Linked DNA regions of Homo sapiens: all the other regions are linked to region 3. The links are contacts of gene promoters, found by promoter capture Hi-C in human tissues and cell types (Jung and others, 2019). All regions are on one chromosome and are shown on one strand. Each heading gives the region's core, a stretch centred on a gene start or on the middle of the fragment in contact. The rest is flanking DNA. Distances are from core to core; before and after follow the strand shown.

Region 1 (4,848 bases), core at 1,919-4,418, 660 kb before region 3:
GAGGTTGCAGTGAGCCGAGATTACGCCAGTGCACTCCAGCCTGGGCGACAGAGTGAGACTCCATCTCAAAAAAAATAAAAAGAAAGAAAAATTGAACACATTTTTGACCATTCCCCTACCTGTTTCTTTCTTGCAACATGTGGATTCAGTAATGCAACTGTCCCCTCCCTCGTTCCCCTCCAGCCCGCTTTTCCCCTTTAAATACTGAAGCCCTCAAAATCATCTTTGGAAAAAGTCACGGATCACAGATTGTTCCTGTGGTTTTGTGTGCCTTTTTTCCAAGCATGTCCTTAACTTGGCAAAATAAACTTCTAAATTGATTGAGACCTGTCTCAGATATTTTTGGGTTTACAGCTTACAGATGTGAATCACTTGCCAAAGACACTGGCATTTAGCGAGCTCTCCTAGGCTGTAACCAGTATGTCAAACGTGAAGATTATTGTGTGTGATCGTTTGGATTCCTTGTTATGATGTATTTTATAAATGCACTAGTTATATCTTTGCTGATGTATTTTTGCTGATCTTTCGTAAGGTGGAACTTTTGTCTAAATGGTATATATTAAACTGTATTGAGTGTTACAAAACCAATATTCTATGGAGAATGAAAAAATAATGGACTAAATTAACTAGGGGGAGGAAAAGCACGAGTCCTGGGTTGCAAGGACCAAGTGAGGCATGGGCGGAGCAGGTTGTATTCGGCAGGCCCAGAAGAGGGAGCCCCACGACCTGTCTGCCTGTCCCTCTCGCTCTCCTCCAAGACAGACTGCCCTTGAGTTTCCACTTGACCACACTAGATTAGGTTTCTAAAGCAATGTGCTCAGGACTTTTCTTCATTCCCTCCTCCACCCTTAGAGAAGCAGACTCCAGCCAGCAAAGTAAAAAAAAACCTCAACCCCAAGTGTTGTGTATTCGGATCTCCAGAAACAACCAAACAAACAAACAAACACCACTTCAGGCATCAGGGGAATAAAATGGAGAGAACTCGGAGGGCGGCCCAGTTGAGGGCAGACATGGTCCCATAAAAGGCATCCCTGGGCAGGGGGCCGGGGGCCTGGGAGGATGGAGACACCTGAACCTCATGCTTGGAAAAAATGAGAAATAGCTCTTGATAGAGGGGCCAGAGCGTGGAGCAGGGCGGGCTGGGGGGGGCCTGACCTACGCAACAGGAAGCGGCCTGCCCACCCTCTCCACTGCCATGCTCCCCAGCACAGGTGGAAAGGAAAAGGGCTACAGAGTCTGCAGATTCTTTGTTTTTTAAAAGCCCAAGCAGCTTATTTTAAGTCAATAATGCCATGGCCTCAGAGCAAAGCAGACACTGCAGGTACAGCACTGGGAACACCAGGGGCCTGTATTCCAGGGGAAACCTGGAGCCTGGGAGGCACATTTCATGGGCAGAGGTGGGAAGGAGTCACCTGGGGCTGATTTCCATGGACCTGTGAGCCCTGAGCCCTCAGGCCTGGCTGGCTTTTTGTGGGAGCACAGCGCTTCCAGGAGCCAGCCAGCGAGGGGGCCTGCAGCCCTGCAACCCAAGCCCAGTGTGCAACAAGCAGCCAGAGGGCTCACTCTCAGAATGGGGGCTCAGCTGACCCGTCCCAGGACAGACAGCGGGCCTGTCACCGATCACGCTGTTGCGGTGGCAAAGTATTGTAAGGCCAAAGATTTGGAGCTCTGGGCCAGACTGCTGGCTTTGAATCCTGACTTAGACCTCTACTGTGTGACCCCAGGCGGGTTACTTCACTTTTCTGTGTCTCAGTTTCCTCCTCTGTAAAATAGGGGTGAAAATATGGGTCGCAATTTCTTGTTTACAATTCCAAAATCCAAAAAGCTCCAAAGAAATGATACATAAACACACACATACATACATATACACAGCCTCTTCAACTTAAGATAGGGTTACATCCACATAAACTCATTGTAAGTTGAAATGATTGTTAAGTTGAAAATGAATTTAATACACCTAACCTACCAAACATCATAGCTGAGCCTAGCCTACCTTAAACGCGCTCGGAACACTGACATTAGCCTACAGCTGGACAAAATCATCTGGCAAGGCAGTCCACTGTGGAGTATCAGTTCTTTTTTTTTTTTTTTTTTTGAGATGGAGTCTTGCTCTGTCTCCAGGCTGGAGTGCAGTGGCGCAATCTCGGCTTACTGCAACCTCCACCTCCCAGGTTCAAATGATTCTCCTGCCTCAGCCTCCCGAGTAGCTGGGACTACAGGCACATGCCACCATGCCCAGCTAATTTTTGTATTTCTTTAGTAGAGATGGGGTTTCACCATGTTGGACAGGATGGTCTTGATCTTTTGACGTCGTGATCCACCCGCCTCGGCCTCCCAAAGTGCTGGGACTACAGGCATGAGCCATCCCGCCCGGCCGCAGTATCAGTTCTTTACCCTCCTACTTGAGTGACCGACTGGGAGCTGTAGCCACTGCAGCTGGCCAGCATTGCAAGACGGTCTTGTACCACACATGGCTAGCACAGGAAAACACTAAAATTCCAAATTTAAGTTCAGTTTCTATCGAATGCATATCACTTTCACACCATTGTAAAGTCAAAACATCCTTAAATTGAACCATGGTAAATTGGGGACCATCTGTATTGACAAAAAAAAAAAAAAAAAAGGCAAATAGCCAAATGGAAAAAAAACTGGCAAAAGGAAGGCAGTTTTAGCAGAGATTTCTAGGTACTTACTTCAATTGCCATCCCCCCAACCCCCATCCTTCTCAGTAATAGAATCCTGATGTTACTCAGAGTTGCCATTTATCTAATTGAAAGACCATGTTTCCCAGCCTCCCTTGCAGATAGGTATAGCCATGTGACTAAATTCTGATTCAATATATGCAAGCAGAAGTGTTGTGTGTTATGTCCAGGAAGACTCCTTAAAGGGAAGGAGTGTGTCCTCCTTTGTGCCTGCCTCTCCCCTGCTGGTTGGAATGAGGGTGTGATGCCTGGCACTCTAGCAGCCATCTTGGAACGTGGGGCTGAGGACCACAGCCATTCCCTAAGGAGAGCAAAATGCAGCCCTAGAAGACGCCTGGGTCCCTGATTAGTTTGCAAAGCCACAATACCAATCCCGCACTCCCTTCCTCCAGAATACTTTTACAAGGGACAAAAACAAATTTCTATCCAATTTAAGCCTCTGTTGTTTTTGGTTTTTCTGCCATATGCAAATAAACCTAATCCAATTAACACAGCAAATCACAGAGGCTCAAATCCAAATGACCAACAGAAAATGGTGCTGAAGTTTGTCGGTAATTAGAAAAATGCAAATTAAACAACACAACACTTTATACCCATCAAACTGATTAAAAACGAAATGTGTTAATATGTTTGTGGGCAAAGATTCAGGGAAAGCATTCTCTAATACATTGTTGCTGAAACATAAATTGTTATGGCATTTTTGGAAAGCAACCTGGCAACAGTTATTAAAATTAAAACTAGATATACCCTTCAATCTAGCAATCTCATTCCTGGTGCTCTAGCTCCGAGTAATAAAAGAATTAATGTGTATGCAGGTGATACAGTTTGGATCAGTGTCTCCACCCAAATCTCATGTGGAATTGTAATAATCCCCAATGTTGGAGGTAGGGCCTGGTGGGAGGTGATTGGATCATGGGGTGGATTTCTCATGAATGTTCTACTGATTGAACTCAAGAGCGATACAGATAAAGTAGAAATCATTTTTTTCCCAAGGAAGTGACTTTTATCTAAATCCTGAGTGAGAGCTGCATGTGTCTGATGATCCTTGATTCTCTGTTTATATTCATGTGAAAGAACTAGATGACTGACACACGTAGCTTCTGTAAGATTTTGTTTCAGTTGTGAATGATTTCATCATCAGCAGGTCTGTCTTCTGAGTGGGCAGGCTGGCTCTGAACTCTATGTGCAGACAGGCATGTCAAGACAACCTTGACATGAGCAGGAGAGCAGCTAAGATTGCCCTAAAATGCCAGAGAATCATAATAAATCAAAGGACTAATCCTACTCAGGAAGAATGGTTATTACATGAGAGTGTTATTTGCTGGTCGTAGCTAGCAAGAAGGTCAGGCGTAAAGGCAACTCTGCCTGCTTTTATCTCAGAATGGGCCAAAAGGAGGGAAGAGAAAGGGAAGTTGGAAAGACATAGAACTATTCATCCACAAAACCTCAATGATTTCCCTGATTTTTGTTCCATTACAACTTTGCTTTACTCATTTGATCACATGAAGCTTAAAACCTCCTGAGGCCCTACCCTTGACAATAGTATCCATCTTCCCTACTTCTTCTGCTCCCTTCTGGGCAAATTTTGGACAACTAGCAACTCTGTTCTCTTTTATTCGTATAACAGCCTCCAGAACTGCACGAGAATCCATTTCAGTTGTTTTAAGTCACCAAGCGTGTAGTAATTTGTTATGGCAGCCCTAGGAAACTCATATAAATAGAATCTCATTAACTTCCTGTCTTTCAGAAGTCCTCCAGAAATCTCTGAGCCGCTCATGTAAACCCTGGGCCCATATTACTCTCAGTACTGCTGTGTATTTATTTCGTTTTGTTTCTCTTGACTAGGACAGAAGTGAGGTAGTTTCAGTCTGCATTGAAATTTTTAAAATAATATTTAATATTTAACTCCAGTGTATCTTCAGTCTTGCCCTAGAAGCCAGATTCAGATTCAGGCTAGATTGAAGAGAAAGCATTCCGCTACAAGAAAGGAGATTTAATTTTTGGTTCCCTGGCACATAGAGTATGCATTTCCCTGACGAAATTGTGTCAGACCAAGTGCATTTAAGACGAAAGCCAATCAAGATGATGGGTGTGGCAGCTTCTTACTCGGCTTCAGTGGCCCCCATGCCATCTCAGTCATAAAAGT
Region 2 (4,770 bases), core at 2,119-4,618, 590 kb before region 3:
ATGATTAAATTTTCATTTCCAATATGAATCCAAGGCATGTCTTATCTTGCATACCGCTGCTTCCATGCTAGAACAGGCCTTTATCGCCATGGCAATTTTCTGTTAAACACTGTTCCTGCATTTAGCTTTCCTTCCATTAATCTATTCTACTCAATGCTTCTAAACTTATCTACTCAAGTTATCATTTTGAGGGTACCACTGTCTTCGTGAAAAGTCTTCAATGTCCCCCTGTTGTCTTTCAAGCCACCCCAAGTTGCATAATTCGTCATTTATCCATTCGTCCCGCCAGCCAGCCATTCAAAATTTACTGAGTGCCTACATGGTTTTTTTTCCTTTGGAGAAATGCCATTCAGCTACTGCAGCTACCTGGGCCTTGCTTACAAAGGGCGTGAAGGGCCTGGGAGTTTAAATCCCCGTAAGGTTTCCACTAACCAGTGACTGAAAGATACTGACGAAAGACCCAGATCCATAGTCTGGAATAGCCCTGAAGCTTAGTTTACGCTCCAAAGTTTCCCTGTGGAGTCAGGCTAAAGGCTGTTCTTGGGCTTTGCATGGCGATCACACACTTGCCTGACTTCCTTCTCTTTCTTGCCCTACTTCACTAGTTGCCTTATTTATCTACCCTGGAGCTCTTCCTTAATAAATTATTTTCACATGAATTCTTCTCTTAGGTTCTGTTTCTGGAAAATCCAAAGAAAACCACTTTTGTTGAAAACCAAAGACATGATCACTACTGAGAATGAACTCATCCTGAGTAGAAAAAATAGACACGCAAGCCAGCAATTTAGATTTTAATATTCTATCTACCATAATAGTGGGATTTGCAAAGTCCTGTGAAATGAGGAAAGAATAAATACCTACCTCGGGTAAGGGAAGTCAGACTGGAAAGTCTTCACCTAAAGTAATGTCTGATCTGAAATTTGGAGAAGATTTTATTTAGGCAGAAATAGGTAAACTAGTTATAACAAATAGTGTGGGAAAAAATTTCATGTTATAAGAACATGAAATTCTTCAGGAACTACAAATAACTCAATGTATTATTATCAGAGACAATATTTGATACAAGGGAGGGGGAGGGAACTGATTCGAATAGGTGAGTAAGATGGCAGAAATGTGAATTCAAAACATTCTCTGAGTGTTGAAAAAAGAGCTCATCTAGTTTATCTGTCCAAGATGGCAAACAATATGGAGAACCAGGAGGGCGATGCCTTCAATCATAGAGTTGTAGCTGCCGCTCTGGCAGCATTGCGGAGGACTGCACGTGGAAGTTGCAAGCAGGGCTAGTCTGGAGAAAGAATAATCAGAAATCAAATACCATGGTGAACACAAAGGGCTGAGAAGAGAGATAATGTGAGATACGAGAAGAAGAAATTGGTGGTAGTTGGTGATTGATTGGGTCTGTGGTAAGATTCTAGGCTTTGGATCACCCTGCCAGTCATCAAATCCAATAGATTTTTTTTTTTTTTTACTTACTTTATCAAGATAGCAGCATTTTCCTTCCTTCTTCAGCTTCCTGTTCGATTGTTTTGCTAACTTTTGTACATTTTCCAAATTATCCATATTGACAATACATTATTCTTTTATTTGTAAAGTGGGGTAGGTGGTAAAAATGAAATCATAGCATATAAACAACTTACTAAAAATTATTGAGTTAATCAGAAAAAGCATGTTGATAATTAATATACATATGAAAAAAGTCCAACCTCAATCATAACTTTTTAAAAAATGTCAATTGAAACAATAAGAATATCAGATTAACAAAAATTTTAGCTGTAAAACATTCAATTTTGGCAAAGATAAAGGAAAGAAACATGCTAATGCACTACCTGCGAGACTGTAATAGTTCCAAATTTTCGAAGAGCCATTACAAATATCTGGCAAATTAAAACACTCACTTCCTTTCATCCAGCAATGGCACCACTAATAATTTACACTAAGAATCAATCTAGATGAATATATATGAAGATGCTTATTACAGTATTATTTATAATAGTAAAAAAATCCATTAATATAAACTTATTAGCTACACTACAAAGTGACCGTTCCATGGAATATTATGCAGATGTTATAAAGGATATGTTAATATAAATGTGGTCAATAAGTATTGCATTACAAAAAGAAGAGTAGAAATTGAGTTTGTAGAGAATAATTTCATCACCATATAATGAGAATATATATACACTGAAAATTTCTGAAAGGATCCACCCAAAACTGCTAACATTATTTACCACTGGGGCTTGAAAATGATAGAGATTTGCTCTTGTCATTTATTTTTTTCCCCAGGAACAACAGTAATTTGGCCATAAAATTAGTGAAAAGAAAGAGGCATTAACAAGATAATTGAGGGACGGTGTCGAGTTTTTATATGTTTGTGGAAGGAGGAGATGAGAAATTAAAACTTAAAATAAAAATAAAATCCTTATAGTCACAACTCTAAGAAAGGAAAGGTACTTACAGACAGGAGAATAGAGGCTAATCCCACATCCTATAAGTGTCAAACCAAGGACTAGGATTCAGCTCTCCTGACCCTTGCCCCAGTGCTCTTTCTATGATCCTAAGCAACAGTATATCTATGCCTAGAAAATCAAGCCAACTGAGGTGGAAAAGATCTCAGCCATTATTTCTGTCTTCTCTGAATATACAGGATTGATTATGAGTTCATAAATAAATAAGAAATATTGAAGGGTTGTCCATGGGACACTAAAGTTCCACTGTATTCTGAACCAGAATTTCTTAATTCAATACCATTGCTCTAAAAGGATGCTTTCTCAAGCACTGAAAAATATGGTTCCATTTATGTCCCTAATTTAAGGGAAGAGACATTTTGAATTGGAGGCAAATAATCTATGTTGTAACACTTCGAAGCTTGGTCAGGAAGCTTATGCCAAATGCCTTATGTGTACTTGTGATTTTTGTATTCTGACCCTGAATGTATTTCACACATAAGCTGACATGTCTCCAATAATTTTCCTCCTAATTACGGTATAAATGAAATATTAGCACATATTATCTCAGCACCCCACCAACTGATCAGTTTGTTGCTATAAAGTGCAAATGCCCAATCATATAAAATTCCAAGCAGTGCTCTACTGAAAATGAGAAGGCATCACTAGCATGTGAGTGAAAAGAATATTACGTGCTTCCCTTTTCTATACGTTAAATTGCTTCACATTGAAAAAATAAATTCACTCTGGGAGACTGAGGCGGGCAGATCATAAGGTCAAGAGATTGAGACCATCCTGGCCAACATGGTGAAACCCTGTCTCTACTAAAAATACAAAAATTAGCTGGGCATGGTGACGTACACCTGTAGTTCCAGCTACTCGGGAGGCTGAGGCAGGAGAATTGCTTGAACCTGGGAGGCGGAGGTTGCAGTGAGCTGAGATCATGCCACTGCACTCCAGCCTGGTGACACAGAGAGCCTCCCTCTCAACAAAATTTTAAAAATGAAATAAATAAAAAATAAGTTAAATAATATACTAATCAAAAATTTGTAAATTATCCATCTACTTCTAGGAAATTACAAAGAACAAATTTCATTATTTTAGCATAAGAGGGATGGATTTACTTTTGTAATTTTCAATATATTAACAATAGATTTTTTTCCTAGTGTTGTTTAGGATACTTCCTGCAATGCTTCATTCAAGTTATCAGTGATTTTTACTACGTATTGTAAAGGATACCTAGCCAACATATATAAATATTTGCTGAATTCAAGATTACTAAGTCAAGAAGCTGGGGTAAATAAAACGGAAACAGGACATCCGTGAATATTTAAGGATATAATCTCGCAATTGCATGTTTCTGCTGGCTTTTCATAACATAATAAACCTTGTTTTTTCTTCTAATTTAAAAAATGCTATCAATAATAAAAATGCTAATTATACAGAATCAACATTTTTATGCATATATCAATTCTTACAAATGTTCTAATTTCAGTTGAGTAAATTGATATGTAAATATACTTGTAAGACAGAAAATGTTGTAAGAAGATTAATTTGAGGTTGTAAGTAGACTAGTGAATTAAAATTTCCATTTCCTATGCTGCAGAGCACTTTTAATGCAATTTGGAGGGAGAACATTAGTGCTCAGCATTTATAATTTATCATTTGACATTTGGACTAAAAATTCGAAGTGTATAGAAGAATTACATATATTTTTTAAATTTCCAATACTGCATATGCTACATGATAATGCAGGATTTTACAAAGAGATTAGTGTAATTCAGTGGTTAATCACAAATATTTCAAAAAGGAGCTACATTGTGGACCTTATATTCCCCTCATAGTTGCTTCAGGAAGGGATCTCATTTGTCAATCCTTCTCAAAATTGGGTTCTATTCAGTTCTTAACTGAAAATAGGAAAAAATGCCACCCTATACCGAAGCATATCAACAGAACTGGAAACATTATGCATAATTTTCAATAGATGAGGGTATACATTTACAAAGTATTCACAAAAAGATATTTTTGGCCAAAATTTGGTTGAATTTGTTGAAAGGAAGTACATCTCTGATCTACTTTTTTAGAATTTTCTGGGTTTCAAGGTCTTAAACAGAGGTGTGTATGTATGTGTGTGCGTGTGTGTGTACGGAAATGTAGTGTGTTCATAAAAATGTCACTGCTGGTGTTTCCAAAATGAAGCTACTAAAAAATAGAGAACTGGTATAATCTAGAGAGGGAGAGGAATCGATAATGCAGAGCGCGCTTGGAAAATAAAACTATGGAAAAGAGGCCACAGTATGGACCAGAAGCAATTACCTGATCACTA
Region 3 (4,317 bases), core at 1-2,500:
AAGATGAGGAGGACGTAACCTAGTCTCTGCCCTTCAAACACCCAAGGTTTATTTTGAGTAAAGATTGCTAAAAAGGTCAGGAACAATTTAGAGAGTTAAATACAATGACACTTCCTAGCCTGACTGAGTAGGCCGTCAATATGTATTTCTTCAAGACGAAAATTATTATGTCAGCGAAATAGCATGAAAGAGGGCTTTATGCTGTTAAAAATACTTGGAAGCATAGTTCGGAAACATTTTTAAAAGACACTTTTTAAAGTGTCTCATTAATATGACAAATTTCCTTCTGAAATGAAGATTTTAAAGTATAATCCTCTACTACAACCGCTGATATTTTTTGTTCTGTGGAAAGCCTGTCTATGAGTTTGCGAGGCTCCTTGTCAAGGAACTTTAACTTTATAATGAAGTAGTTTTTACAGTTGCTGACTTAATTATTCATAGAGACGAATAACCTAGAAAGCAGAGTTATATTAAATAAAAAACATTGGTTTTAAAACAAGGTATGAGTTATAATAAAAATTATCAGTTATCTATTAAATCTGGTCTTCAAGAGCTATTCAGGTATACAGCATGGTTGGTATATGTCATGTATTTCTAAGATAGTTTCGGAATACCTAAGAATTCGTGGCACTCAGAAATTTTTTGCTGGTCTTAAAATGAGGAAATCCACATTTTGTGTAAAAACAAAGATACGGTGTTTAATGGTCAGCCCAAATAATAAGACTTGCTGCTAATATATGAAGAGTTACACCCCCCAAAAAAGAAAAAAGATTAACAGTAGAACAGTTTTTTGAAAACAATGTTAGCCTCTTAGTTTTCATTTCTTTTTTTTAATGGGGAATACTGTTTTTCAGTGATTAATATCTGATATTTGATCATGAAAAATGAATCATGTTAAAATAACCTTCACCTCCTCCCCACATTGACACAAAAGTTACCAAGTGATTATATTTGATAATACTTTATGACCCCACTCTTGAAGTTCTCACAATTTGTAGAGAATCAATTCGCACGTTTTGTCTCTCTTAAAGGGGAAAAAAATCCTCTAAGCTGGTGATTTCACGTTCTTTGACAAACTTCAATATCAACAGGCAACGATACCACTTTAAGAAAATTCCAAGGAAAAGACCTCATTTTAAAATTCCCACCTCTGGCTCCCAAAGATTGGTTTGCAAACTTCGACAAAATACTCTTCTCCACTCGCTATTGGTGAGTGCTCTATCATTCATTCTTTTGCCTGGAGTTTTGTGAGGTACCCGCTTGCTTTATGGGAAAAGGCTGCTCCGGAACTGCCCTACTTTAGACTTTTTCATGGTTATCAATCTGTACAAAGAATCACCAAACTGATAAAGCAGGAACCAGAGGGCAAATCACGCTGCCAAGACAACTGTGTAATTCGCTCGAAAAAGAAACGGTGAGCCTCTCCAGCAGACTGGGTAAACTGGCAAGGGATTTTACGACATAGTTGGAGATTGGAGAGTTACAGAAACTTTTCCGGTTTTTTACAAGTTTTAAAGGAGTGATTGAGTGTCAAAGGAAAAGCAGAGAAAATACAGGCACAATTTAAAGACAGCAGGAAGAAGAGTGTTCAGAGAGCATTTTTCTCTTTAGGGTGAAGTTTGAAAGCATCATGCCCAGATTATCAGTGGATTTTTGAAAGGTAAAGGAGGCAAGATAATAAGATTAACTATAGATCATTTTCTACTTTAAGAAACTGTGCTTCGTTATTGTTGCTTAAGTGTGGATTTAGAAGGACATTTAGTAATATTGTAATTTTTATATGGATATTTTTGTTTATATATTGTCATACCTGGCATAATAGATAATATATCTATTAAAAGATATAGGAGAAAATAGAGTTGCTTGAACCCAAATTTTGTGTATATTTGTGGATTAGGGATTCCAGGGACAGATCTGCTAATGGCTGAACAAAACATACTACAGATACCTGAAGCAGAATCAGCATGTAAGGGTAAATTCTCAAAAAAATCCAGCAATCATATTTCAAAAATGACATTTTTAATTAAAACAAATACAAAAGAATTTATCAAGGAAACGTTGATGAACATGACTATTTCTTAAGTTGCCTGTGTTAATCCATATAGGGGAATATAAAGTAATAAAATCCAGCCCCTCAAGAGCAGGGACAAATGAGGCTCAGAACATTTAAACTAAAACTTCTGAACAGTTCTTAATGCCCGGATGACTGTTGTAGAGCACAGGTGCTTCAGGAGCTCAGCTCAATGTGAGATGAATTATTCAGAGAAGGCTTCACAGTATGGGTAAGACTCAATTTGGGCCTGAGCAATGGGCAGAATTTCAGAGAGAAAAATAAGGGAAGTGGCATCCCTACTAGTGAGTGAGTTGTTAGCAAATACATGCAGCCTGAGGAAGAGTTGGTTCTGACTGCGGCAGAAGGTTCATTTGGAAACTTTGGTTACAAATTTTAAAAAGCAGCATGAGAAATATAAAGAGCCGGAATTCCCAAAATCAGGGGTTTGGGTCCTGTGTTTGGAACAGGAGGCACCCCTTATGAAAGTAATATTTGAAGACAATAAAACTGACAGTGGAATTTAAGATGGCTAGACCAGAGCAGAGACCAGAAGCTAAGGGGCCCCATGCTGTGTAAATACTGGCACACAGGTTAGTAACCATGCTTCTTACCCGAATACATTTACCTTATCATTGTTGAATAATATAAATTTTGATGCACTTCTTTGTAGTCTTCGAAAGCATTGAGTTTACTTCTTTAAGATTTTTGGGGACCGCTGCCACACTGTCTTGGGGAGTCATGGTTGCCCCGTCTTTATAAAAGTCTTGTCATAATATGTATAAAAACCAGAATTACACATAAAACTGCGTTGTGGTTTCATAGCTATTTTTAACAGCTTTAATGAAGTATAATTTATATATTATAAAGTTCATTTGTCTTAAGGATATAACTCAATGATTGTTTTAGAAAATCACAACCATCACCACATTCCAATTTTAGAAAATTTTCATCATCCTAGAAAATTTAGAAAATTTTCATCATCCTAGAAAATTTAGAAAATTTTCATCATCCTAGAAAATTTAGAAAATTTTCATCATCCTAAAAAAATACTTTGTGCCCATTTGCAGGCAAGTCCTGGTTTCCTATCCCCAGCCCCAATCACTAAAAAACTTTCTGTCTATAAATTTACCTTTTCTGGGCATGTAAGTGGAATTACACATTATGCGATCCTTTGCATCTAGTTTCTTTTACTTAGCATAATGTTTTTGAGGTTCATCCATGTTGTAGTATGTCTCATTACTTCATTCCTTTTTATTGCTAAGTAATAATCCACATTTTATTTAACAGTACCAATTAACAGACATTTGGATTTCTTCTAGTATTTAAATATAGTGTTTAATTGTACTAATTGTAATTGTATTACAGTAAATACAGTACAGTATTTAGCATTATGAATAATGCTGCTATGAAGATGGGTACAAGTTTTTGTATGAACGTGTGTTTTCAGTTTTCTTGGGTGTATATCTACGAGTGGAATTACTGTCATATGGTAACTCTGGGTGTAACTTTTCAAGGTGTTGCACAACTGCTTTCCAAGGTGAATTTCCCATTTTACATTTCCACCAGAGTGTATGAGGGTTCCAATTTGTCCACATCCTCACCAACACTCCTTATGATCTGTCTTATTCATTGTAGTCATTCAGCTGGATTTTAAGTGGTATCTTATTACAGCTTTCATTTGCATTTTCCTGATGACTGACGATATGAAGCATCTTTTCATGTGCTTGTTGACTATCCATATATCTTCTTTTGTAAAATGTCTTTCAAATATTTTGCCTATTTTTTTAATTGAGTTGTCATCTTGTTACTGATTGTTTTTTGGTTTTTTTGGTTTTTGTTTGTTTGTTTGTTTGTTTGAGACTGGGTCTCGCTTTGTCGCTCAGGCTGGAGTGCAGAGTGCCACGATCTCGGCCCACTGCAATGTCCACCTTCCGGGTTCAAGCAATTCTTCTGCCTCAGCCTCCCGAGTAGCTAGGATTACAGGTGCCCACGACCACGCCCAGCTAATTTTTTGTATTTTTAGTAGAGACGGGGCTTCACCATGTTGGCCAGGCAGGTCTCGAACTCCTGAACTCGTGATCCACCTGCCTTGGCCTCCCAAAGTGCTGGGATTACAGGCATGAGCCATCGCGCCAGCCCATGTTAATAAATTTTTTTTTTTTTGACACGGAGTGTCACTCTGTCACCCGGGCTGGAGTACAGTGGCTCGATCTCAGCTCACTGCAACCTCTGCCTCCTAGGTTCAAGCGATTCTCCTGCCTCAG
Region 4 (4,579 bases), core at 1,690-4,189, 640 kb before region 3:
TATGAAAGAGTACACCAAGTTTATAAAGATCATATCCCACCATTGCTCCGGTCAACCCATGTAACCTTTACTTATATTTCAGTCATCCACATCCCCTCCTAGATGAAGGTTAGAGAGAGTGGATTGGAGCATACAGGTCTTCCTCCTGCTTTCCTCTCTTCCATTTTTTCTTCTCTCACCCTTATATTCAACAAATGTCTACTCCCTGCCAGGCATGTGTTCTAAGTACTGGGGATGGAATGGTAAGGACCACAGAAAAATTCTTCGCCCTTCATGGAGCTTACATTCAAGAAATAGAAATAGAAAATAAACAAGTAAATATGTTGAACATCAGGAGATGATAAGCGGCATGGAGAAAAATGAAAGGACTGTAAACGAGGTAGATTTGATCATAGGAAAGCTCCTTGAAGAAGTGTCAATTGAGAGAAAATGTCTACATGTTATGAGGGAGTAAGTGGTTCATAAGCAGCAGAGAGTATCTTCTGGTCGGAGATAAACAGTGATTACAAAAAGTCCCAATATTGGAACAAGCGTGGCTCAATGGAGGGAAAGCAAGATGGCCTGTGTGACTAGAGTGCAGTAAGTGAGGTTGAGGGATGGGGATGAACTGAGAAGCCAAGAGAGAGCAGATCAGAGAGATTCAGCACTACTGGGGTGATTTAAGTATGAATGGATACAGAGACTAATATAAGTTTTTAAACCATCTCTGTCTGTTGAGAACTAACGGTAGAGAAAAAAAGGGAGAAATAAGAAGAAAAGATGACAATATTTGCAGGAGTGCATGACAGTGGCTGGTTCCATGGTGGAAATGTGATTGCATCTGGGTTATATATTGAAGGCAGGGAGGAAGGAGACTGCTGATGAGATGAATGTGTAAATGTTGAGTGAGTGTCGATGCTATGTACTGAGATAAGGAAGATTGTAGGTTGAAGTATGGGGGTTCAAGAGTTCTTTTCTGAATGTTTATTAGACATCTGGAGAATCATGTTAAGTACGCAGTTAGATAAAACAATCAGGAGCTCAGGATAGATGTCAGAACTAGACGAATAAATATGGCAATCATCAGCAGAGATGGCACTCGGCATTAGAGGACTGGATTTTTTCAACCAGGAAATATGTTTAGAATTGGAAGAGAAGATGTTCTAGAATTGAGCCCATAAGTACCCAGACTTTCTTGAGAAGAAGGACACGGTGAAGGAGACCAAGAAGACGCAACTAATCAGATGAACACCTGTACAGTGTGTGTGTCTAAGAAGTCAAAGAAAGAAAGTATTTCAAGAAAGAGATAACCAACAGCATCAAATGCCCTGAAATGGCAAGTAAGACGTACGTAACCTTGACAAAGGTATTTCAGTGGATTTGTAGGGATGAAGGTCTGATTGGAGAGGATTAAAGAGAGAGTGGGGAGAACTTCCACTTAAATACATTTATCTCCCCATCCTCCCAAAACACCAATAAAATGTATGTAATGGAATTTTTTTTGGCATAAACTACAAGGACAAAGAGTGTAGAAAAGGAAACAACAGGCAGAAAACCCACATCGACAAAATTTTATAATCTGGTATGGTAGTAACTGACTCAGTAGGCCAGAGAAGGGGAAATGTAACCCTATATTCAGGTTGCCAGAAAGATATAGTTCTATTTACTGCTAAACCCCAAGAAGGCTCAGAAAGTGGAGAACCAGCTTCCTTAGATGGGAGGAGTGTGAAATGGAGCTAAAAACAGGGTTGATTGAAGATCTTTTAAGTAGCTACCAGATACCACACTTTACTTCCCAGCTCGGTGCAAGCAGGCATGGGAGTATTACTCTCTGGAAAGGTTTGACAAGGGGTTAAAAGGCTCTGAACATGGGGATGGCAGACACAGGTGAGAGCAAATGTGCAGTGCCTTACTGACATGGGGAGATTTTAAGTAAAATTCTTGAATGAAGGGTAAGACACTCCTTACCCTGCTTCCTTGTCTGTTTCTCTGCTTTACCTTCACAAAGATGGCTGCCAGGCCTGCATCAGCGCCCTTCCACTGTAAAGCATTCTAAAAAGTTCACCTTCAGTTTTGAGGGTTGTGATCCTATAGCAATAACCCGTTTCCTCTTCTGCATCTTTGATAACCCTCTCATCATTGACATCATCCAATTTTTTCTGCAACCAATGGTGAAACATGTCTCAGGCTGCTTCCTGTATTTGGAAAAGCCCTCCTTCAAATTTAGCTAAAGGACTCTGTCATGTTTACAAAAAAAGGAGAAAAAAAAATCGCTTGAAATGAAATGTCCCCATTCCCATCTACTTCCAACCTTAAATTGAATATTATGTCAAACACAAGAGGCCATTAACATGCAAACATTTGTAATCGTCGCTGCTTTACTTCACCCGGTGCATCTTATTGTGTTTTTATGTAATTTGGATGTGATTAAAATGTGTGCAAATATTATCGTAATGTAGCTAAGCAGGTATTTATGTGAAAACATATGGTCCAGTGTAGTGGATATAAGACCTGGTTCAATAACACATGCCTCTAGGTGTTTAATGATATTTGATGGCATAATTTTTTTAAAATCTCAGTTTTCCAAATCATTATCTAGATTCAAGGAGGCAGAGATCCAGATGCTTTACCATATTTTCTGCACCTCATTATTAAATTCACGTCTTAACTATTCTTTGTAAGTAAACTGTCATAGAAGACTTTCATAATTAACCAGAGAAAGCTTTATGCCCCCTTTTCAAAGTTTAAATGGGGATCTAAAAACAAAGCAGACCAAATACCTATTCGCTCCAGGCCAATGTAGACATCGATAAAATTAGCCAGTGTTCTGTCAATGATAATCTAAATCATTCTCTCACGCATTTATGCACAATTATATTAGCTTATTATTATACTGTCATAAACAATGGTTGTAGTAAGAATCACCTACCATATGTAGACCTACAATTATGAGTTGTGCATAGACCTTGTCTGGAAGTCAAAAGATAGTATTCACTTTGTTTTATGGAATAATCTTTTCGGTAATTTTGAGAAAGTCATATATTTTTAGTGAACCTTATTCTTGCTTACTGTAAAATAGAATCCTGCTCCTGAGCTCTCTCAAAATCATCATAAAATCAAAGGTGACAATGTGAAAATATATTGTTACTTTTGTCAGTTTATTTCATCTAGTTCACTTATTTGTCACTGCTCTTATTTGCTATTCTTACATGAAACTTTCATACTTGTCTCTAAGTATACACATCCATTGTCATTCAGATAGAGATGTTGTGAGGACCTTGAATCACTTAATTTAATTAACACTCTTAATTTTTCAGATGAAGAAACGTTGTTCACCCAGAAAATTTAAGTGACAAACCAAGGCCACACCTATAACTGGTGGCAGTCCCCAAACTAAAACTCCAGGCCTCTAGTCTTTTCACTTACATCCATATTCATTTCTCAGAAAATATCACCTACTTTGGGAAGTATTGAAAGAAACGTTGCTAAGATGTAAACACAAAATAAAGTGAGACATAAATGAAAAATAAAACACCGTGTTTAAATATTCAGATGGCCAATGATAGACTGGATTAAGAAAATGTGGCACATATACACCATGGAATACTATGCAGCCATAAAAAAGGATGAGTTCATGTCCTTTGTAGGGACATGGATGAAGCTGGAAACCATCATTCTCAGCAAACTATCGCAAGGACAGAAAACCAAACACCGAATATTCTCACTCATAGGTGGGAACTGAACAATGAGAACACTTGGACACAGGAAGGGGAACATCACACACTGGGGCCTGTCGTGGGGTTGGGGGAGGGGGGAGGGATAGCATTAAGAGATATACCTAATGTAAATGATGAGTTAACAGGTACAGCACACCATCATGGCACATGTATACATATGTAACAAACCTGCACGTTGTGCACATGTACCCTAGAACTTAAAGTACAATAATAATTAAAATAAATAAATATTCAGATGGCATATAATATGCCCTGCTGAGACCAGCTTGGTCAGGGATACCCTAACCCAGGGGCGCTAGAGGAATTAAAGACACACACACACACAGAAATATAGACGTGTGAAGTGGGAAATCAAGGGTCTCACAGCCTTCAGAGCTGAGACCCCCAAACAGAGATTTACCCACATATTTATTAACAGCAAACCAGTCATTAGCATTGTTTCTATAGATATTAAATTAACTAAAAGTATCCCTTATGGGAAACGAAGGGATAGGCCGAATGAACACGCCCTTAAGACACAGATCGCTCATCTTTTGTTTGTGGCTTAAGAATGCCTTTAAGCAGTTTTCTACCCTGGGCAGGCCAGGTGGTCCCTGCCCTCATTCCCGTAAACCCACAACCTTCCAGCTTGGGCGTTAGGGCCATTGTGGACATATCACAGTGCTGCAGACATTTTGTTTATGGCCAGTTTTGGGGCCAGTTTATGGACAGATTTTGGGGAGCTTGCTCCCAACAATGCCCCAACTAAGATATTAGAAAAATCTAAAGTGAAGATTTTCTCCTAAATATACTTTTACACAAGGTTTATATATATATACATATACATATATATATGCATGTAGATATATTCAGTATAACTCTAA
Region 5 (4,608 bases), core at 1,446-3,945, 540 kb before region 3:
AGCATTTTGAAATTCCTTGGCTCAATGAGGTATCGCAAAAGACTGTATGCACTTTGAAGAAAGACAAGTTAGTCATACGATTTCCATTCTTTTTAGCTTTCTCTTAAATATATGACAAATACCTACACAAAGAGTGGTATTTCAGTTAATATAGTAAATTTATTTCCAGACTGACATTCAGCTTAAATATGCCAATATGTGATTTAATCCATAGGCACCTGATGAACACATTATTGTCAGATTGGTTACAGATGCTAAATGCTATCTGAAGGTCATTCCTAGTCATTGATATTTATCAGGGTAAAAGTGAAGTGATTTCAACAATAAAAGTACCTTTGAAATAATTTACCAATGTATTAGATAAACCCAGTTTCAGAATGATAAAGAAAAAACGTTAGACCAAATAGATGTGGCTAATTAACAGTGGTATGATTTCTAGCCTGAGGGTTTAAAATGGACTTAAAGTAACTGTCTTTAAATTGAACTCAAAGAATGCAAAAGCAGCAAGTTCAGAAAATAAAAGGCAAGAACAGGACTTTAGGTCCATTTTAAACCCACGGGCTAGAAATCGTACCACTGTTAATTAGCTGTGTTATTTGGTCTAACATTTTTTCTTTATCATTCTGAAACTGGGTTTATCTAATACATTGATACATTCATACAATTTGGAAGAGTCAGTTGAAGTCACAAGGACCCAATATTTGCGCTCTTTCAGTGAATGCAGGCAAATCTGTTATTCCATCGGTAAAATCGTATTGTTGCTCTCCTGTTAATGTCATATTTAGAAAAGTATCATGAGGACGCCAAATGCTAAAAATGGAGATGGTCTAGTAACTAGAAATCCCCACCCCAGGGAGCGCATATACACATCTCCCTACATCCTAATAATGTGATGTGTTTTGGAACACAGACATTAGAACTTCATGAAGTTTGAACTGTTGAGTCTTTCCCAAGCATCATCAAGTTATGATTTAGGCAATGTATGACTGAAATCATTTGTTCATCATGCATAGGCACAATCACATAAATATTGCACAAAATATGTCCCTAACTGAAACTGAGAGGTACAAAAACATATTTCACTCTTAGTAAACAAGTTTGTGAGGAAATATAACTCTGTGATTGTATAGACACATTTCCTGATAATACATTGACATTCACAAACAGTAGACTGCACTGCAGTTTATAAACATTTTAAATTGCATAAACATCTCCTTGATTATCAAATATAGTATAATACTGTCTACTAAAACTCCTTTTTGTTTCAACTAAGTACTCTCACATATATTAGTTTATAATAATGTTTGTTATTATTTTTTAAAGTGTTTTCCATTCAAGGAAAAGAAGTAAATTCCTATGTCAGAGTAACCAAGGTGGTTGAAGAATAGGTATTAGCCAGAGAGGTGTAGATGGTAAAAATCAATCTTCAAGCCTCAAAGAAGCTCCATGAACAGAGAGGAATGCCAGGTGTCACAAGCTTTCCTTCACTCTAATTCATTCTTGACTAGAGCCTGTATGCCTGTTCCAGGGACATTTAAACTCCTAAAGGATTTCTTATGATCTTTACTAAATAAGAAGAATGCCAGCCAGCACTCTTTTGTGTACTGGGACATGTGGTCATGTGATTAAAACAGGTAACATCAACTCTGACTTTAAAATGTATTATAGACACAAATGCTCTAAGCTAGGAAAGGTTTTCCACATCTACAGTCAATGAAGGGAGCCTTTCGTTCCTCAGAAATGATCAGTTTTTAGGTCATCGAGAAAGAGTACAACTGCTGCAGCTCATGATGCAATATCTTCATGAGCCCAGAGCACATACAAATCCGAAGGGAACTACCATAGTACAGCGCTAATTGTTGGCACCGGAACAAATGAAACACACTCTATCCTGCACAAACCTGCCACAGCAGGCCACTTTCCTCTTCTGTGAGATTTTAAAAGCTCCCCCAAAATGTTATTACTCCCATCACCAATACACAGAAAATAGGGGAAAGGCTGTTTCCAGTTCTCGGCCTTTAAACAACTCTAAATGTCAGTACTCATAGTGGCATATTACAAAGTAATAAACAGTGCACACCTGGGGGCAAACCACATATTGAGCTAATGAAGAGCTCACTGTGATTAAGATTAGATCAAACAATAGCAGAACATAAGCAAATTTTATCTGAATTCCGTAATGAACATACATGCTGCGATAACATTAAAAAAGCATGGCAGCCTATTCCAAACCAGCAATAATAATTTTGTGCAAATAGTGGGTCTTTGTGTATTTGAACTCCCACCACGTAAGGGCAAACTCGATATGCATGCTAATGACCTACAACTATGAAACTAAAAAAGAAAAATGCTGAAGGATGCCAGAGTAAACATCAGTGAAAGCCACAGAGACCCACTCTCCTTTAACTTTTTACAAATAAACTATAAATTACAAATAATCATGAGTGGCTCTAACATTCAAATGAAGTAAATGAATTGGGTAGGAGATGAACCCCATAACTTTGTTTCCTTTTTTAAAATTTCTTGAGCAGCTCTTTGATGATGGTGATGTTTATCTCCTTCTTCTCAGCAGCCAAGCCCAGCAAAAGAATGGCATACGGGAGTTGCTGCACAAGCCTGGGTGCTCCACGCTGTCAGTGAGGCTCACCTCACAAAGATCTTTGGAGAGAAGGAGGTGGGGATCCGAGTGCAGTGAGAGCCTCCCCTGCCCCTGCCTGCCCACCCTGCCTGAGGACTCTACTCACCACCATGCTTATCAGCACCCACAAGCTCCTGGGGGGCTGGGGCTCCTGGACCAGGCTCATCAGCAAGCTTCAGGGCAGTGGCCGGGAATTTGCTGTGTCCCTCGTTGTAGTCACCACAAGCCGCAACATCTTCTCCAGCAGCTCCAGCAGCTTCACCTGGAGGGAGGGGTGCTCAGCTGTTATGCATCTACCGGCGCCCACCCTCACGCCCACCCCCACCCCTGCAGAGATGTTGCACACCCTACCTTCATCTCCTCCATGTCCTGGGCCAGCCTGATGATGTCCTCCTCCAGTTGCCGCATCTTTGGCACTGCCCCCTGGCTGTGTTCTAGGGTGATGAACTTTCCTGCAGGAGGACAGGGCTCAGACGCTGAGGTCCCTCCGACGGCCCTGCAGCTCCCCCTGCCGTGCCCTGGCCTCCCACTAACTGATGACTTCTGTCTTTCCAGTACTGGATGAATCGAAGTTCTAGTTTCTCCGCTCGCTCCCTCAGGTCCACCTTCTCCTCCAGGAGGTCCATAAGGCCACTCTGGAGCCAAAATAATGGGGTCACATCTCGGCAGCAACACCCACCCCTGCCCTTCTTGGCCCATGCCAGGACTCAGTCACCTCCAGCTTCTCCATGACCTCCTGCATGGCCCGGTGGGTCTCCCCACTCACAGACTGGCCCCTAGTCACTGGGGCTGGGACCGCTGCCTCTGGCTTCTGCTGGGCCGAGGCCACCAGGTGAGCCATGCGCTGGCAGCACACCCTCTGCTCTTTCACCTGCTCTCATAACCGTGCCTGCTCCTCCTGGGCATTGGCTCCAGCGGAGTTGAAAAATGCAACCTGAGGGCAAGAGGTGAGCATTCTTGTAGGGGCATACACAGAACGAACGGGGCAGAGAGGTGGAGTGCAGCCTCTTCCCTTGGGGCCTCAGAGAGTGCATCTGTTGGTCACAGGTGAAATGGTGTCTGACCACTGGCTCCTGGAAGGGATGAGGGTCCAGAGAAATCAGAAGGCAGGGAAACCAAGAGCATAAAGGGGTCTTGGAGGGACCACAGAGGAAGGTGGCAAAATGGGTACAGGGGGAGTCAGGCTCACCGTGGCCTCCCAGCTCTCCAGGTCCTCTGGGTTGCTTGGCATGGGCCGAGGTGCCTCCTCCTCACTGTCCAGATGTCCTCCTCTATCTCCTGTGGGGGGTGGCCAGAAGGGTCCTCAGACAGCCCAATAAGGGAGGTACTGTGGGCCCACCTCTGCCTCCACCCTCACTGTGTAACACTGAGCCAGCCACTACCCAGAGAGCAGCTGCTGTTCTTTATTTTTACTTTTAAGAACCAAGATCAGGCATAGTCCCACTACCAGTCGATGTGGGAGTTCTGACCCGCTCCCTTTCTGACCTGGGCCAGTTCAGCCATCCTTAGGCAACTTGGTGGCCCCCCGCTCCCAGGAGGACATCATATTGATGCCAAACTTAGTGCGGGCACCCGGTCGGCATAGGGACCAGCTGTTCTAAAGGTCTCTTCCAACCTTTGCCTTTTTCTTTGCTGCGGCCAATTTGCTCTGTTGAGTTTCTTCTGCCATTGCGGGGTGGGGAGGGAGGCGGGGTTGGGGCCACGTGAGCAAAATCCCAGTGAGCACTGATGAACACCTCCACTTGCCTACCAGGCAGCTGTGTGACTGAGCCCGAGGAGGCACAACTAGGGCCCCCATAGAATGCAGAACAGGGGCGTGGCCTTAATGCTCCAAGCCCATTGGTCAATGACAAAGATGAAAGGGAAAGGGGGTGTGGCCAGGCAGCAGTATGTCCAGAGGGACCTGTGGCTCACAAGGAAAGCTGTCCATGCAACTGCTGTCCCCGCCTACTCTGAGGGGAGGGGCCGCC

The links. Contacts are between HindIII fragments. The study calls those that stand out against the background at their distance.
Region 1: a fragment that was not itself captured here is called in contact with the fragment with the promoter of TTC23 in region 3 in 1 of the 25 tissues and cell types used here (lymphoblastoid cells).
Region 2: a contact is called between a fragment that was not itself captured here and the fragment with the promoter of TTC23 in region 3, in 1 of the 25 tissues and cell types used here (lymphoblastoid cells).
Region 4: a fragment that was not itself captured here is called in contact with the fragment with the promoter of TTC23 in region 3 in 1 of the 25 tissues and cell types used here (lymphoblastoid cells).
Region 5: a contact is called between a fragment that was not itself captured here and the fragment with the promoter of TTC23 in region 3, in 1 of the 25 tissues and cell types used here (lymphoblastoid cells).

What each region holds. Positions count from the first base shown.
Region 1 is chr15:99,905,997-99,910,844 of GRCh38, reverse strand. No RefSeq gene overlaps it. Among named protein-coding and RNA genes, the nearest start is that of LYSMD4, 170 kb to the right of the region's middle. The HindIII fragment of the contact is 4,214 bases long and covers 1,062-4,848 here.
Region 2 is chr15:99,835,226-99,839,995 of GRCh38, reverse strand. It overlaps the pseudogene LOC400464. Among named protein-coding and RNA genes, the nearest start is that of LYSMD4, 100 kb to the right of the region's middle. The HindIII fragment of the contact is 3,380 bases long and covers 1,679-4,770 here.
Region 3 is chr15:99,246,514-99,250,830 of GRCh38, reverse strand. TTC23 (tetratricopeptide repeat domain 23) reads left to right here and starts at 1,250. Exons shown (of 14, transcript NM_001288615.3): 1 at 1,250-1,660. The HindIII fragment of the contact is 13,786 bases long and covers 1-4,317 here.
Region 4 is chr15:99,888,000-99,892,578 of GRCh38, reverse strand. No RefSeq gene overlaps it. Among named protein-coding and RNA genes, the nearest start is that of LYSMD4, 160 kb to the right of the region's middle. The HindIII fragment of the contact is 6,167 bases long and covers 1-4,579 here.
Region 5 is chr15:99,790,861-99,795,468 of GRCh38, reverse strand. LOC124903563 (a long non-coding RNA gene) reads right to left here and starts at 3,913. Exons shown (of 3, transcript XR_007064776.1): 1 at 3,828-3,913; 2 at 2,990-3,090; 3 at 1-2,900. It also overlaps the pseudogene DNM1P46 and the pseudogene RN7SL484P. The HindIII fragment of the contact is 4,285 bases long and covers 553-4,608 here.